Regions from separate parts of the Homo sapiens genome. Here region 2 is linked to region 1. The links are contacts of gene promoters, found by promoter capture Hi-C in human tissues and cell types (Jung and others, 2019). All regions are on one chromosome and are shown on one strand. The core of a region is centred on a gene start or on the middle of the fragment in contact, and the rest is flanking DNA. Distances in the headings are between cores, read along the strand shown.

Evidence for each region. Contacts are between HindIII fragments. The study calls those that stand out against the background at their distance.
Region 2: a contact is called between a fragment that was not itself captured here and the fragment with the promoter of SIRPA in region 1, in 2 of the 25 tissues and cell types used here (dorsolateral prefrontal cortex and lymphoblastoid cells).

The regions. Positions count from the first base shown.
Region 1 is chr20:1,893,531-1,900,632 of GRCh38, reverse strand. It overlaps SIRPA (signal regulatory protein alpha), which reads right to left and starts at 5,226. Exons shown (of 8, transcript NM_001040023.2): 1 at 5,107-5,226. The coding sequence starts at 5,185. LOC102724545 (a long non-coding RNA gene) reads left to right here and starts at 6,383. Exons shown (of 4, transcript NR_186374.1): 1 at 6,383-6,514. RefSeq lists enhancers at 12-61, 1-440, 4,066-4,581 and silencers at 5,873-5,992, 6,003-6,262. The HindIII fragment of the contact is 18,060 bases long and covers 1-7,102 here.
Region 2 is chr20:2,139,373-2,146,474 of GRCh38, reverse strand. It overlaps STK35 (serine/threonine kinase 35), which reads right to left. Exons shown (of 4, transcript NM_080836.4): 4 at 1-2,691. LOC124900458 (a long non-coding RNA gene) reads right to left here. Exons shown (of 2, transcript XR_007067499.1): 2 at 4,877-7,102. Among named protein-coding and RNA genes, the nearest start is that of STK35, 41 kb to the right of the region's middle. RefSeq lists an enhancer at 115-778. The HindIII fragment of the contact is 3,073 bases long and covers 2,764-5,836 here.

The sequences.
Region 1 (7,102 bases), core at 3,977-6,476:
TCTCTCTGTTCTTCTGGCCGCACCATAAGGCACTGGATGAAAGCACAGAGGGCTCTCTCAGGCCCCCTACTGCTTTGCAGGTCCGGGAATCCACAACTGCAGACCTGTGGATCCAGATAGAGACACCTAGAGGCAGGCTGTGCCCACAGCACTCAGTCCCTAGTAACAGGCAATTAAATCACTCTAGCCTGGGTTTCTACTCAACTTGTCCATCCCCCAACAGCATAAAAGCTACAAGGACAGCTGGGTGGTGCGGTGGCTCAGCCTGTAATCCCAGCACTTTGGGAGGTGGATCACCTGGGGTCAGGAGTTCGAGACCAGCCTGACCAACACGGAGAAACCTTGTCTCTACTAAAAATACAAAATCAGCCAGGCATGGTGGCGCATCCCTGTAATCCCAGCTACTCGGGAGGCTGAGGCAGGAGAATCGCTTGAACCCAGGAGGCGGAGGTTGCGTTGAGCCGAGATCACGCCATTGCACTCCAGCCTGGGCAACAAGAGTGAAACTCCATCTCAAAAAAAAAAAAAAGAAAAAAAAAAAGCTACAAGGAAAATATCAAGCTGAAGGACATTTGTTCACTGAACAGCCTTTGCTGTTTTTTAAGTACCCCCTATGTGTAAGCAACTGTGTTAGATGTTTTATGAAAATCCGTCCCAATTGTTAAAAAAGAGGAATCAAACCAGAATAAAGCCATGCTAATTACAACACTGGTTAATATGTATTGAGTGCTTACTACATACAAGGCATGGCTTCCAGCATTATACACGCATTAATTAACTTAATCCTTGCAATAGAGTGGTTAATACCATTCCTCTTTTACAGATGAGCAAAATGAGACACAGATTCCTGCAAATTGTCCAAGTCAGTAGCAGGGCTCAGATCAACACCCAGGGGTCTTAGCACCATCTTAGCGCTAGGCCAGGGTGTGTGTCTGCGTGGAGAGGCTCCTCTGACCTCTCCCCAGGAGGCACATTAAATTGAACCTCGGAGGATGAGTAGGATTCAGACACAGGAAGACAAGGAGGTACAGGGAGGGCATTTCTGATGGCAGGAACAGCACGGGCCAAGGCACAGAGCTGAGAGTTCAGCTGAGGGCATGGATCTGTAGAAAACCGTTTACCAAACGGAGAGAGGCCACATGCTAACGGGCATACTACAAATCAAATGCCTCTCGTTCATAAGTTCAGGGAACACTGGAGTAAATGTGACCCAGCTCGGGATTCTACATTGCAGGGCTTCTCAGGGTCTTTGGGGTGCTCGTGTGGCTGAGTAGCCAGCAAAGCTCTGGTCTGCAGGGAGGAAGCCTGGTTATCCTGCAGCATCTCAACAGGTCAGCTTGTTGGAAAACATGTGGCTGGAAATCAGGCCTGGCAGGGAGGAAGCCCAGGCCTCACGGCAGCTTTGTGTTTTTTTGTTTTTTTTTTTTAAAGAAAACTTGGACCCACTCAACAGTTTTGAGCTGGGGAGTGACATGATCTGAGTTGTGTTGACAGGCCAGAAATCTGAGCACATTTAAAAAGAGAGAGAGAGGGGGGAAACCTTCCGTCAGTCCAAGACTACAAATAAGAAAATAACCTGTCGCACGGAGCCATTGGAAGCAGCAAGCGAGCGCGTGTGGGATCCGTACAACACTTTTAGACTCCCTTCCTCTCGCACACCCCCTCTCCATCTGTCGCAAAGGGCACCAGGAAGATGCAGGGAGGAATATTCCAGCTCTGGGGGCTCCAGAGCTCAGCAGCCCAGATGGGGGGCTCTCACAGGAGCCACATCACCTCTCATGTGTTGTTACTGGTGAGGACCAAGGGGCTGTCAGTATTTCCACCCTCAGCAGGCTTTCAGAGAAATGCCTGTGACTTCATCAAAACCTTCTGCCCAGAGAAAGAACTCTTCTACAGTCCTCCACCCAAGGCCAGAAAGGGGCCTCTCTCACTCCCTCTCCAGCTTGGACTAAATCATCCTGATTAAGTCATTGAGCTTCTTCCCTAGAAGCCACCCAGCAGGAAGGCCAGCATCCAAAATCCTGGCTCCTCTCTATCACTTATAAGTTAGTTCCCCAGTTTGGGACTCGATTTTCTGCATCTGCAGAATGGGGAGAAGAGCCAATCCATGTCTTGCGGGTGAGACGACGCAGGAGCAGCATCCGGCCTGGAACGCCATTAACTATCTAATGAATGTTGGTTTTCCTCCCTTCTCTCAACACATGGTTCACACCAGCACTGCATAGGTGCTGCATGACTGCAAGTACAGACGTGAATTACCGTGAGTTTCCGAGGGGTTGGTAAAGGCCAGAAAGTACTCAGAGAAAACTATGGCTTTAAAGGAACTTCCAACAGCCTGATGTGTTGAGCCAAAGCACTCCCGCCCCGTTTTCTCTTCTTACGAAAGAGGAAGTGAGATTAACTTTACCATTTAGGAAAGTACAGAGGAGCCCCCAGAGTGCCACCCTCTACCAAACGGTGAGAGGTTCACTGGGGGGCCCCGCTGCTCCCCAGAGCCTGAACTGCAACTTGGCTTGGCCTCCTCCAGGCCAGAGAGAAGAAATGAATGGGAGTTTATCTGAGGTCGGCCTGGGGGGTGACTCAGAGGTCTCAAGGCCTACCTGGGGCCAAGCAGGCATCCTGCGGGTTCAGCGTCAGGCCCTGCTGACACAAAATCAGGTGCCAGGTGTCCCCAGGCCTCAGTCCCTTGCCCTTCTCCCAGCCTCAGAATCTCCCTCAGTGCAGTTGTTTTAGGAAACAGGCCTCACATTGGGTCCAAAAACATAGGTTGGTGACTTCACTGGGATCTTTTTAGAATTTCCCTTTGGCAGCATTTGTGCTAAAAGCAATCTTTAGAAACTTCTTCTCTTGCCTCCCCCACCCAGGATAATTCACATGATTGGCCCCACCCCCCCAAAACAGTGATCATGTGAAGACACAGGAATCATGTGACACCTCCCAGGCTGACAGTTCTGCCTGAGACACTAGTAGTCATTCAATCCAAAGCCGCCTTCCTAAACCTGACATTTTAGTTTCTCACTCGAACAAATCCATTTTCTTAGAAAATTGGACAACTGCCTCCTTGTACCTTCCTACCCTCATATCCTGTCTCTCTACTTCTTTGTTGTAAATTCCATGTCTGGAGCAATAGGGGGAGGGGCCTGAGGCCCCATCCTTCAGCCAAACCAGGTGACTTCCCTGCCCAGGCCCATGGTGTGACCAGGACCCCGAAGAACAGATACTGAAGGATAATGGGAGACTTGAGCTATGATGGTCGCACCTCATCCCTTCCCCACCACCCTCGACCAAGAAATTCATTCTTACCTCCTAAGATTTATTTATTTCAAAGCTAATCTTGGCCCCTCTGCTGCTCCCACTTTTTCAGGCTATTGATGCTGAATGGATTGGAACGGAAGTTTTATGGCCCAATCTTTACCATCTTATAGACTGTTTTTATAGGCAAAAGGGGGAGATGTGCTCACAAGAAAGGTGTTGGTGTTCCCAGCCGGTGCCCCAGGAAAGGCAGGCTGCCCATCGGAGCACTTGCTAATCAGCGTCACTGCTCGTTTGCCAGGGACTGAACCACAGCCTCCTGGTCGGAGAAGGGTCTGGAATAGACATTTAGAAATTAACTCGGGCCCAATTCCCTGCTTCAGGAAAATTAAGCACTTGTGAGTGACACTTGTGCATTTCCAGGCCAGGAAGGATGGCAGGGCAGGAACTCGGACTTTTGCAGGGTACAAATGGCCAGCTCAGGCAGGAAGGAGCAGATAGGAGATGCCACTCACTGGAGAGACGTGAACTGTATCAGTGCTCCCTTCAGCCCAGCAAGGACGCAACTATAACTGAAAAGAACTGGGGGTGGAGGGTGGGGTGGGGTGGGGGGATGCCTATGTGAATTCCTGGGTTTCAGGGGAAACTGCAGGGCAGAGAGAAGCAGCTGTCTACCCCCCATACTTCTCCTTCCACCCACTCTTTGCTAGTTCTCCCTTTCTCCCTGCTATCAGATGGTTACCATCTCTAGTCAAACGCAAAAGGGGGTGTTGGACACTGAGCTCATCTTTACCTCCCTCCTCAAGGGTGGGAGGTACAGAGAGACCCCACTGCCTACAACACAGTTTCAAGACGACAAAAAACAAGATCCCCATTTTTCTCTCCCTCCCAACTCCCTTAATGCCATTTCTCTGCTCCCCCCGCCCCCCACCCGGTGCCCTCCCAGGAGACCCATGGTTTTGCAAAACCCATTTAAGAAGCAAGACTCCTGAATGGTGACCTCACCCTTTGGTGAACATGCACAGTAGCCTTCAGAGCCCGCCTGCCGGCGACAGCCAGGTGTTTGATGTAGGCCAACAGAAAGACATGGTCAGAGCCACAGGTAACATCCCCGCGGAGCACCTGAACTGCAGGGAGCTGCCTGGAAGCTCGGGGAAGGCAGGAGGAAGGGGGAGCTGGGAGCGCCTCAAGGAGCAAGACCACCAGGGAGAGGCTTTGGCAACCACAGGGACAATCCACCGTGTTTTTACATAAGGATCTGTTGCTCGCAGCAGCTCGCTCTGGGGTTACCGCGGCCTCCCGGCTCCCTCTCTCCCAGGCACACACTAACACCGGTTTACTCTGCGCACCAGAGGGAGGGCTCACTCTTCCCTAATTGCAACAGCTTGTCTCTGTTCCATTCCAGGCAGCATCGGGAGGACCTCTGCCCTCACCTCCTCCCCTCACACCCTGAAGTCAAACATGTGGAAAGTCGTATGTCCATGGGGACAGATTCTGGGGAAGCCGGACGGCCCTGCTCTGAAAGCCACTGTCAGTCAGCCTTCCCCATTGGACCGGGCAGGGGCTGAGTGAAGCAACTCGGCTCTTTTGTCTCAGTGCCCAGCACAGTGCACAGAGTCAGAGTCCACAGAGACAAACTCTCATAGAAGAGACTTGGGTTCTACCCTTGGCTGTGTGACCTTGGGCATGTCGCTGGCCCTCTCTGGGCCTCAGTTTCTGCATCTATAACCCTGGTTACAGGCGTCTCTCCCCCTATTACTGCTCGGCATTAGCCGAAGGGGTCCCAGTGCCAGTCTGAGAGGCCTGAGCCCGCAGTTTGGGGAGTGCAGCGGTGGGGAGCGGGGGGGTGCTTACCTGACCAGGCGCAGGACGCGGCGAGCAGCAGGCAGAGCAGCGGCCCGAGGCGGCCGGGGGCCGGGCCGGCGGGCTCCATGGGCCGCGGCTGCGGAGCGAGGAGGGAGAGCGGCCGTGAGTGCGCGCTCGGGCGGGAGCAGGCTGGAGCGGGGAAATGACTAAGGCTCCCCCCCTTCCCCCCTCCCGGCTGGGCCTCCCCCCGACTCCGGAACGGGCGCCTGGAGCGGCCGCCGCCGCCGCCGCGGTTTTTGGAGACCCCCCCTCCCCGCCCCCCAGGAGAAATGGAGAGACGGAGACTGGGAGAGACCCCAAGCGCGCGAGAAATAAAGCCAGGGGCGGCCAGAGAGAGGCGGCAGGAGAGAGAAACAGACCCAAGGGAGCCAGGCAGAGAGCCAGAGACACGGAGAGGCGAGAGGGGGAGAAAGAGGGGGAGAGCGAGGAGCGAGGAGCGAGGCGGCGCGCAGACCGACAGACCGCGCGGGAGAGAGGACCGCGCGAGCAGGGGCGAGGGGCAGCACGGCCGAGCCCGGCCGCGCGGAGCCGCCCCCGCCGCTGCCCACCTGCCCCGCCCGGGCTCCACACGGCGCGGGCGGCTGGGCTCGCTCCCGGCCCGCAGTCCCGGCCGCTGCCCCCGCCCTCCCGGCAGCCCGACCCCCTCCCTCCTTCCCTTTCCCCTCCTCCCGTCTTCCCGCCGCCCGGGGAGGCTTCGGGGCTCCGGCCCCGCCGGCACCTTCTCTGCGAGCGAGCGCCCGCCTGCGCGCCCCGGGGGAGGGAGCGAGGGCTGCGAGCTGCGCGCCCGGCCGGGGAGGGCAGCGTCCTCCCCCGCGCCGGCGCCCGGGCCCCGGCTGCTGTCCCGGGAAGGCGGCCCCGCGAGCCGCCGCGGCCCGCTGGGGCTCGGGACTAGACGAGCCTCCGGCTCCGACAGCGTGCCCGTTCAGAAGCCCGCGCGGCTGGTCCCCAGCCCCGACCGGTCCCGCTCTGCCCCTCCCCGTCCCTGCCGGGCCCGGACCTGCGCCGCCCGCGAGGGCTGGAAGGCACTGGAAGCGCCGCCGGGGCTGCCCAGAGGCCGGGTCCCCGCTCCACTTTGCGCAAACTTGTTTTTCTAAGGTCAGCGCTGCGAGCTGGCTACATCGTCCTCTTAAGGTGGACCGGGGAAGTTGCGGCCGACCTCCCCTCGCCTCCGGACTCCGGCCGCGCGGCTGCTCCCCGCTTCCCACTGGCGAGAGGCTGGAGGCGGCGAAGGAGTCGGGGCGCGGGGGCGCGGGGGGCGGGGGGGCGTCTGCCTTTTAACCCTCCCCAGGAGGTCGTGCCTCTGAGCCCCAAAGCTGAAGGCCCCTCTTGGGGGTGGGTGCGGGCCGGAGGGGCCCGATCCTTTCAGAGCCGGGCCGAGGTGAAGGAAAAGAAGGAAGTAAGTGAACGCAGGGGGAAGGGGAGAGGAAGAAGAGATGATGGTACAAAAATAGCGTGTGTGTAGGAAGGACTTCGGTGCCGCCTGGAAAAGAGGCGCGGGGAGGAGAGGGAGCGAGAAGGGGGCTGTGGCGCGCAACCAGAGGGGAAGGGTCGGGGCCTTCCCAGGGAGGTGGAGGCCCCCTGGCCAGGTGTCTCGGTGGTGGAGGGCGGACTGGGCGGGTGGGAGGCCCAGGCCGGGGCGTGTGTGGGAGAGCGGGGCCCTGAAGGCCTGGGTTCCGGGAGAAGGACAAGCCCTGAGGAAGATGAGGGGAAGGGGAGCCGGGGCCAGAGGCCTGGAGTTGGAGAGGACAGAACCCCGGTTTTCCCGGAGGGAACGCCGTTCCTGTAGTAGCCAGGTCAGTGATGGGGAGTGCCAGTGTCGTGGTCACCTGGCAGAAGGCTCCGCACTGTGGGAGGAACACAAGTTCAAGACCCCGCTGCTAATGGGAGAGAATTTTGGTTCACACAGTGGCGGTTAAGAGGACAGGAATGACACAAGGTGAGAGAAGGCCCAACCCTGTAAATGGACAGAAAGTTGAGGCCCGGA
Region 2 (7,102 bases), core at 3,051-5,550, 250 kb before region 1:
GCCACAGAGCCGAGGAGAACAAATGACTGCCGTTTGAAGTTTTGAATACTACTAGAACTTGGGCAGGTCCTACAAACTTGGTGGTGTTGAGACGATGCACCAGAGAGCTGCTGGCAGCCTGAGACCCAGTGAAGACGCAGGAGGGGGGACGTGACAGTGAGTGGAAGCTGGTCCACAAGGGGACAGTGGAGAGTGGCACTGAAACTACAGGTGCTACCCGGGGCTGAGCCACGGCCAGTTCTCTCACCACGGCGGAGCCCGCTGAGTGCCTGAGGTGGGCAAGTGTTTGAGAAAGCAGGGGAGGGGTAAGAAGCAAGGGCAGGCACTTGGGGCTAAAACGCTGGCCTGCATTTATGCTATGGAAAGAGGTCGTGCCACTAAGCAAGAACTGGAAGATGAGGGGGCATGGAGGCTGGCGACCCCTACCAGGCTGCCCACCTGTCACCTACAGGGGTGCTGTTTCTTGCTACTCTGATAGCAAGAAAAATAACAAAGGGGGAGCACGATGGCTCCAAGAACTTTTTAGTTAGAGCTACTAGACCTGGGGAGGGAAAAAAAAGAAAATAAGGGGCTCATTAGGCTGGAGCCTCACTAGGGATGTTACAGTGTGGGCTGCAGCCAGGGAGAGGGGGGTGCTGGGTTTGGGGACTGTTTTTGCCCATTTGCTCATGTACAGAGAGACAGCTGCCCCCAAGGAAAGGCAGGGTGGCGGGCGGAAAAGGAACCGTGTACTGCAATTAGGGGATGCTGCTGTTCCCACCCTCTCGGATACAACTCAGTGCACTCAGGAGGCTGCCTGAGAAGTCAGAGACAGGAGAGACAGGCAGTCACAATGGGTTTTGGCTTAGGAAGGGAAGGGCCTGGTTATCACTGTGGGATCCTGCTAACAGCAGCCAACCTTCTGCTCACAAGGAAGAAAGTTTGGTGTTGAGGGGGGTGACAGAAGGCTGAAAGAATGTGAGCAAACATATTGCTGAGCCTGGCCTGATGCACTGTTCTCTCCCAAATTCTCAGGGCCAAAGGATTGCCGCTTAGCAGGTAAAAGCCCCTGCTGCCTTGGTCACATAGAAACGGAAATGCCCGCCAACCGTCTCCCCTATCAATCCTATGCTGGTTTAGGTGAAACAGAAAACAAAAATGAACACAAAATGATTCCCTTCCCCCTCCCCAGTGGCCCTATACTATTTGGCCATAATGGGGTGAAAAGCCTTCGGAGTGGCCAGGCGCGTCCAGACAGAGGGACAACACAAGAGCATTGCCCCTTCTTGCAGGGGGAGAACAGATGGGCTCAGAGCAGCAGCCCAGGGGGAGGGAAGCTTCCCCTAGGGAGGTGCGAGAGTGTCGCTGGAGAGTGCAAGGATGGCTGCAGCAGACAGGCATGGGTGGCGGGGCTGAAGTGTCATGGCTGGGGAAGCCTGAAGGTGGCGAGCCCACAAATGGGCCCCTAACGCTGCAGGGGGTCTACCCAGTTCCACGACACCTCCCTGCTCTGGGCAGGTCCGCTGTTTTCCCATTGGATACGTCTATACTGAGGGCAGGCACCTAACAGTAAGTCTCCAGGGGTGAGGGAAATGGCGCTTGACAGTGTGTGTCACTGCATATGACACCATGGACCCCGGCACACAGGGCACGCCCTTCACTGTGAGAACACGACAACGGCAGCCAGTTCAGGACACCCTGTTATCATGGCAAAGTCACAACCAGATCTTAGGGCCTCAGGCCGTCTCTGTGACACCTGGACACTATGGGACACATCTGGGAAGATGACAATCCAGGAGGCAGTTAGGTGAGAAGCGCTGACCTCACGGCAGTGACAGATGCCTGCTGAAGACCCAGCTGTGTTCCACACAAGAGTTTGGCACAACAGTTTTTCCCAACAGAAAGGCAGGGATGGCTGCTCCACCGCCAGCAAGAGCGAGATGGTCGCCCTCCACCCTTACCTCCTAGTTCCCTGCAACACAGGGCAGAAGAGGAATGGATTCCCACCACTGCAAGTCCTGGTGTGGCCTGGGGCTCTCAATAGCTTAAACACAACAAAGCCTGGAGTTGAGACCTTCTTAGTTCTCCTGGCCAAACCCTGGCCTTCCTCTTCCAGGCGGTTCTTCACCTCTGATCATCTCCGAGGCCCAAGGGCTAGCCAGGGCCAGCCCACCAAGGAGTCCAGGAGTTCCTGCATCTGGTAGGGAGGCGTGGCCCAGAGGCCTCCTTGTGTCCTCACGCCCCGTTCCAGAAGAAACCCCCAGATTCCCTATGGGGAGGCAGGCCTTCTCTAGGGAAGTGAGGTGTCATAAGTAGAACTGAGAAAAGTATAAAGAAGGAAGACAGAGGGAAAGTGAAGGACAAAACCAAAAATAGCTCCCTAACCCCTTATAAAAAGTAAAAGTGAAATTTACACATATGCCTTGCCCACATTGAATTTCTTTAAAGAAATTGGTGCCTGTCCACAGCATTGTGTCCTGCTCTTCTGAAGTCTCAATGGTTTAAATTTAAAAAAAGGAAAGAGGAAAAAAAAAAAAGAAAAGAAAAGGAAAAAAATAAAGCAAAACTAAAAAGAAGCGGGGAAACCCAAACAAAAGCTTCACATTGCCGGATCCAGCTGTCGGGAGATCGCCAACCGGCCAGGCCACCACCTGTACCCTCTGCCGTCCTCTGGAGGAGACGTGGTGAGACTGTGGGTCCCGAGGAATCGACCTGGAAGACAGAAGGCGGGTAAGGAGGGGACATTGGTCAGCAGGCCTGGGCACCAGCCCTCAACCCAGAGGAACACTGAAGCTGTGTGTGCTGGGGGCTGTGGGGCAGAGCTCTAAAGAGATGGGGTAAATCTAGCTTCACAACCTCCCTGGTCTTATTCACACATGCTTATTTTTCAGATAGGGAAACTGAGGCTCAGGTTAAGTAACTTACCCAAGGGCACACTGACTAAGGGGCAGACACTAGCTGGGAACCCAAGCTTGCTGGCTCTAGCTGTCAAACCAATCTTGAACCCTGGCTTCCCCGTACTATTAGGAGCAAGACACCGCAGGGCCCACCCTGGATAGTCTGTCCCCACAGACCTTGCCAGCACTGCTTCCACTCATGCTTTCTTCCCCACTCTCTGTGATTAATTGTGCTGTTTGTTAGAAACGCCACAGCAACCCTCTCTAGGTTCAGTAATCCTGTTTTACAGAAGAGAAGAGTGAAGCTCAGGCCTCTGAGAATCCGAACCAGGCTACCTGCTCAGGTCTTAACATGGGCCAGAATCCCACACCCAGGGGCAGGGCTGGACTGGGCCTGCACTGTCTGCTGCAGTGCACTGTGGGGGTTAAGAACGAGGGCTCTGGAGCCAGAACGGGCAACTGAGTAAACAGGAGCTGCCCCTCGACTGTGGGGGAATTTAAGTCCTCTGTTCCCTGGTCTCATCACCTGTACCTGCGTCACAGGCTATTATGAAGATTAAATGAACGTAAAACCAAGAAGAGTGCCTGATCCTATTAGTGTTGGCTATTATTTGGAAACTGCCTTAGTGCCAGGCCTCAGGAATAAGACAAGAAGCCTGCCCTTCAGTGGCTTATTCTACTGGAGGCCTAGAATACAAGGGCCCACAGAGATTAGTCTTGGGCAGCGCCCACTCTGAGCTATCGGATCAGTGCTAAGTATAGCGCTGTCCTGGGCAGGGCGGGCCATCTAGGGCAACAGTGCTCCAGCCTCGTTGCACATGGAATCATCTAGGAGGTTTTTTGAGACAGGGTCTTGCTCTGTCACCCAGGCTGGAGTACAGTGCCTTGATCACAGCTCACTGCAACCTTGAACTCCTGTGCTCTAGTGATCCTCCCACCTCAGCCTCCTGAGTAGCTGTGACTACAGGGCACATGCCACCACGCCAGGCTAATTTTTATATTTTTAGTAGAGACGACGTTTTGTCATGTTGTCCAGGCTGGTCTTGAACTCCTGGGCTCAAGTGATCCACCTACCTTGGCCCATCTAGGAGTTTTTAAAGTGCCCGAATGACCAAAGCAGACAAGTCTTTCACTGTGCGTGCCTTTCTTTGTCAGGCAGAGCCAGCACCGTGGCTGCCATGACTTGCCACCTGTGCGGGCTGACAACACCAGCTCGTTGTCCTCAGCTCCTGGGAAGGGACCTGGCCAGTCCTCCCAAGAGGCAGCAGGATAGGACAATATTGGATAATTTACTGTCTGTTGGCCTCAGTTTCTCCCTCTGAGCACTGGGGACTCTTGGTTGAGGTCTGGGTGGAATGACTCAGGTTCCTGGCCCACAGCAGGGACAAACATACTCAATGACTCTACCCCTTCCTGGCCAACTGTCCCCAACCAGAGACTATAAACGTGTTAAATCTGAACAGGCCATGGTTCTCAGCCACGCAACCACTGAAAGTGTTTCTGGCTGGTGAGGGTGCCCCGCACACTGCTGGAGGAGGGGATAAGGCTTCTGGAAGGTAGTCTGGCACTGTTTTTAGGGCTTCAAAGGTGTTTAGATTGGTAGCTCCCTGAAATTCTACTCCTGAAAGCCAAGCTTAACAGATAAACCTAAATATGAAAAGAACTTTATGGATAAAGAAGTTCACTGAAATATAACAACTCACAAGTCCAAAAATAAGGATTAAGTAAGCAAATGATCCTTCAACGCACTGATATACTACAGAGGAAATGAGATCATTGCATGACATTTTGAAGATTATGACAAAAGCACTTCCCTGGGGTAGGTGGAAAAGGGTAGGTTACAAAGTTGTGTAGCGCACAGCATGACCATAACTATGTAAAAACACAAACCCCTCAGTGTAGGAAAATCTGACAATAAATACACCAACATGTTGTGCTTGTTGTGACTGGATTTTCCTCTTCCCTCACTTCTGATTTTTAATAATGAACACACACCAATGTTATATTTTAGTTTTTAATAGGAAAAATAGGGTACTTTAATGAACAAGAAAAGCTGGCAGCTCCAATAGAAAGGTCCAGATGTGGGGTCTTGTCTGGACTCTTCCATGCCCAGTGGACAAAGGAGAGCTTCCACACTGCCAAACGGGAGGTTAGACTATGTGACTCCCTGCTCTACTGCCCAGGGAGCGGGTGACCAAGAAAGTGGGTGTGGCTGATCTGGAAAGAAAATACAGGATTTCTCGGGCCCAGTCTTTCACTCTGCTGCTTCTGTTCCTTGGTCTGTTAATTCCCCTCAAAAAAATCCACTTGTGGGTCTTGTATCCCAGTTTTTGACTTGGAAAAAGAAAATCATCATAAACATATTCCCTGATGATTCAGCAGCCATCTCAAACTCTAGCTCTATTTAGCATGCCTATTGCTTTCTCTCCGTGCTTTCCGTAGACACAGCAGATCAACCTGAAGATGGGGGAAGAGGGTATTTAGGGTAGGCCCTCACCATCTGAGACATTAAGACCTTGTGAAATACGATGAGAAATTATACAGCCACATGTGATGTGCTAAAATAATCTTTGGGACCAGTTATGACTTTCCAGCATTCCTTTCCTCCCTCCCTGCGGACAATCTCCTGAAAAGGATGCCCATCAGCAGGAAGGTAGCATGTGGCAGCTGAAAAGCAGTGTTGGCAAGGAGGCAGGTTCAGAAACCAGAGGTTCCTTTTTACATAATAAACTAGCAGAACACAGTGTGACTACAGAAGGTCAGACCAACAGCACAGCACTCTGCAAGAACTCCTGAGACACCAGCTTGTAATGACCGCTGTAATCACTGGGTCCCATGCCAGGAAGTGAAGCTGACATTTCCCAAAGGCTCCTCCCTGCTCCCTCTAGCTCTGGCACTGGCTCTGGCCCTCCTGTTGGAAGCCTCAGAACAGCCTACAGGTCTGAGTCTGGTTCTCTCTTGTGGGCACAAAGAAGGAAAATAAGAGGGCTCTCTACTGGGGAGAGGATCTTGGCTTGGGGTTCTTTTCCCATCTGCCATCACAGAAAGAGCATTTTTCCCAGGGAGCTAACAGCACAGTAAGCTCACCGAAGGTAGTGGAGGCGCTTTCTGTAGCTATGAACAGGAATGGCTCAGACCACATGGTTCTGAGTTTAAGCACAGACCCTCCCAGGTACTTGTGGGCACAATAAAGGGTGTAGGTCTCAGCCCCAGTGGGCCCTTGGGGAGGCCTTAGGCTTGTGGTGCTTCATCCTAGCAGATGCCACATCTCAGCTCCCTGACTGCTCAGGCTGTGCCTGACTGCCTGGCTACCAGCTTCTACCGGGGCTCTTCTCATTCCTCTCTGTGGAACCCCTACCTCTGACCAGAGCCCGCTCCTTGAGGGCAAAAATCACACCTGCTAAGCATAATGAAAAGTGGTGATGTGATAAACCTGCAACTGACATCTGTAGTGCCCTTCCATGATTACTGTGAGGAGGGATTTGGCCAGTTTTCACAAGAAAACAGGCCCAGAGAAATGGAGCAACTTGCCCCACACCAGAGTTGCTGAGCAGTAGAACCAGCACTTAATCCAAAGTTTTCCAGCTTTACTACCCAAAGTCTCTGCACTATGATAGTCTTCAATCAGTGCTTCCAAAGCCGGCTCAGCAATGGTTCCAGTAGCTTGCACCTGAGATGACCTTGGGGGTGGAAGGTGTCAGTGATCTGGGAAAATGTGCTATGAATCCTTACCTTTCTCATTTCAGCTCTTGGACCAAGTTCTCTCAGTGCACCCCACCTTCTTATTTCTCTGTAACTGGCGTAACAGCAATCACTTATTGAGCAGTCTGTCTGTGCAAGTTCTAACTGTGTTATAGGCAACAACCTCGTAAAGCAACACTGCTTTCCAATCACTGTTAAAGGATCGAGTGTTTTACATCCATTGCCTCATTTCACCCCAGCAACCCTAAGAGGTAGGGGTTATCGTCCCCCTCGTCTTAGAGATGAGAAAACTGAAGCTCAGAGAGAACAGCCTCATAGACAGTAAGTGGTAGAGAAAAGGGTTTAACTCAGGGCAGTCTCACTCCAAATCCCCTGCTTTTGACATGTAACGATGCAAAATCCCTTCCTAGAGAAGACAAGAAGAGTCTTAAGTGGAGTTTAAAACCCATCTAATCCCTTCATTTATAAATAGACTCACTCAGAAAAAAGGCTCATGGAAGGCTTACGTGCCTGTGCACAGGTCT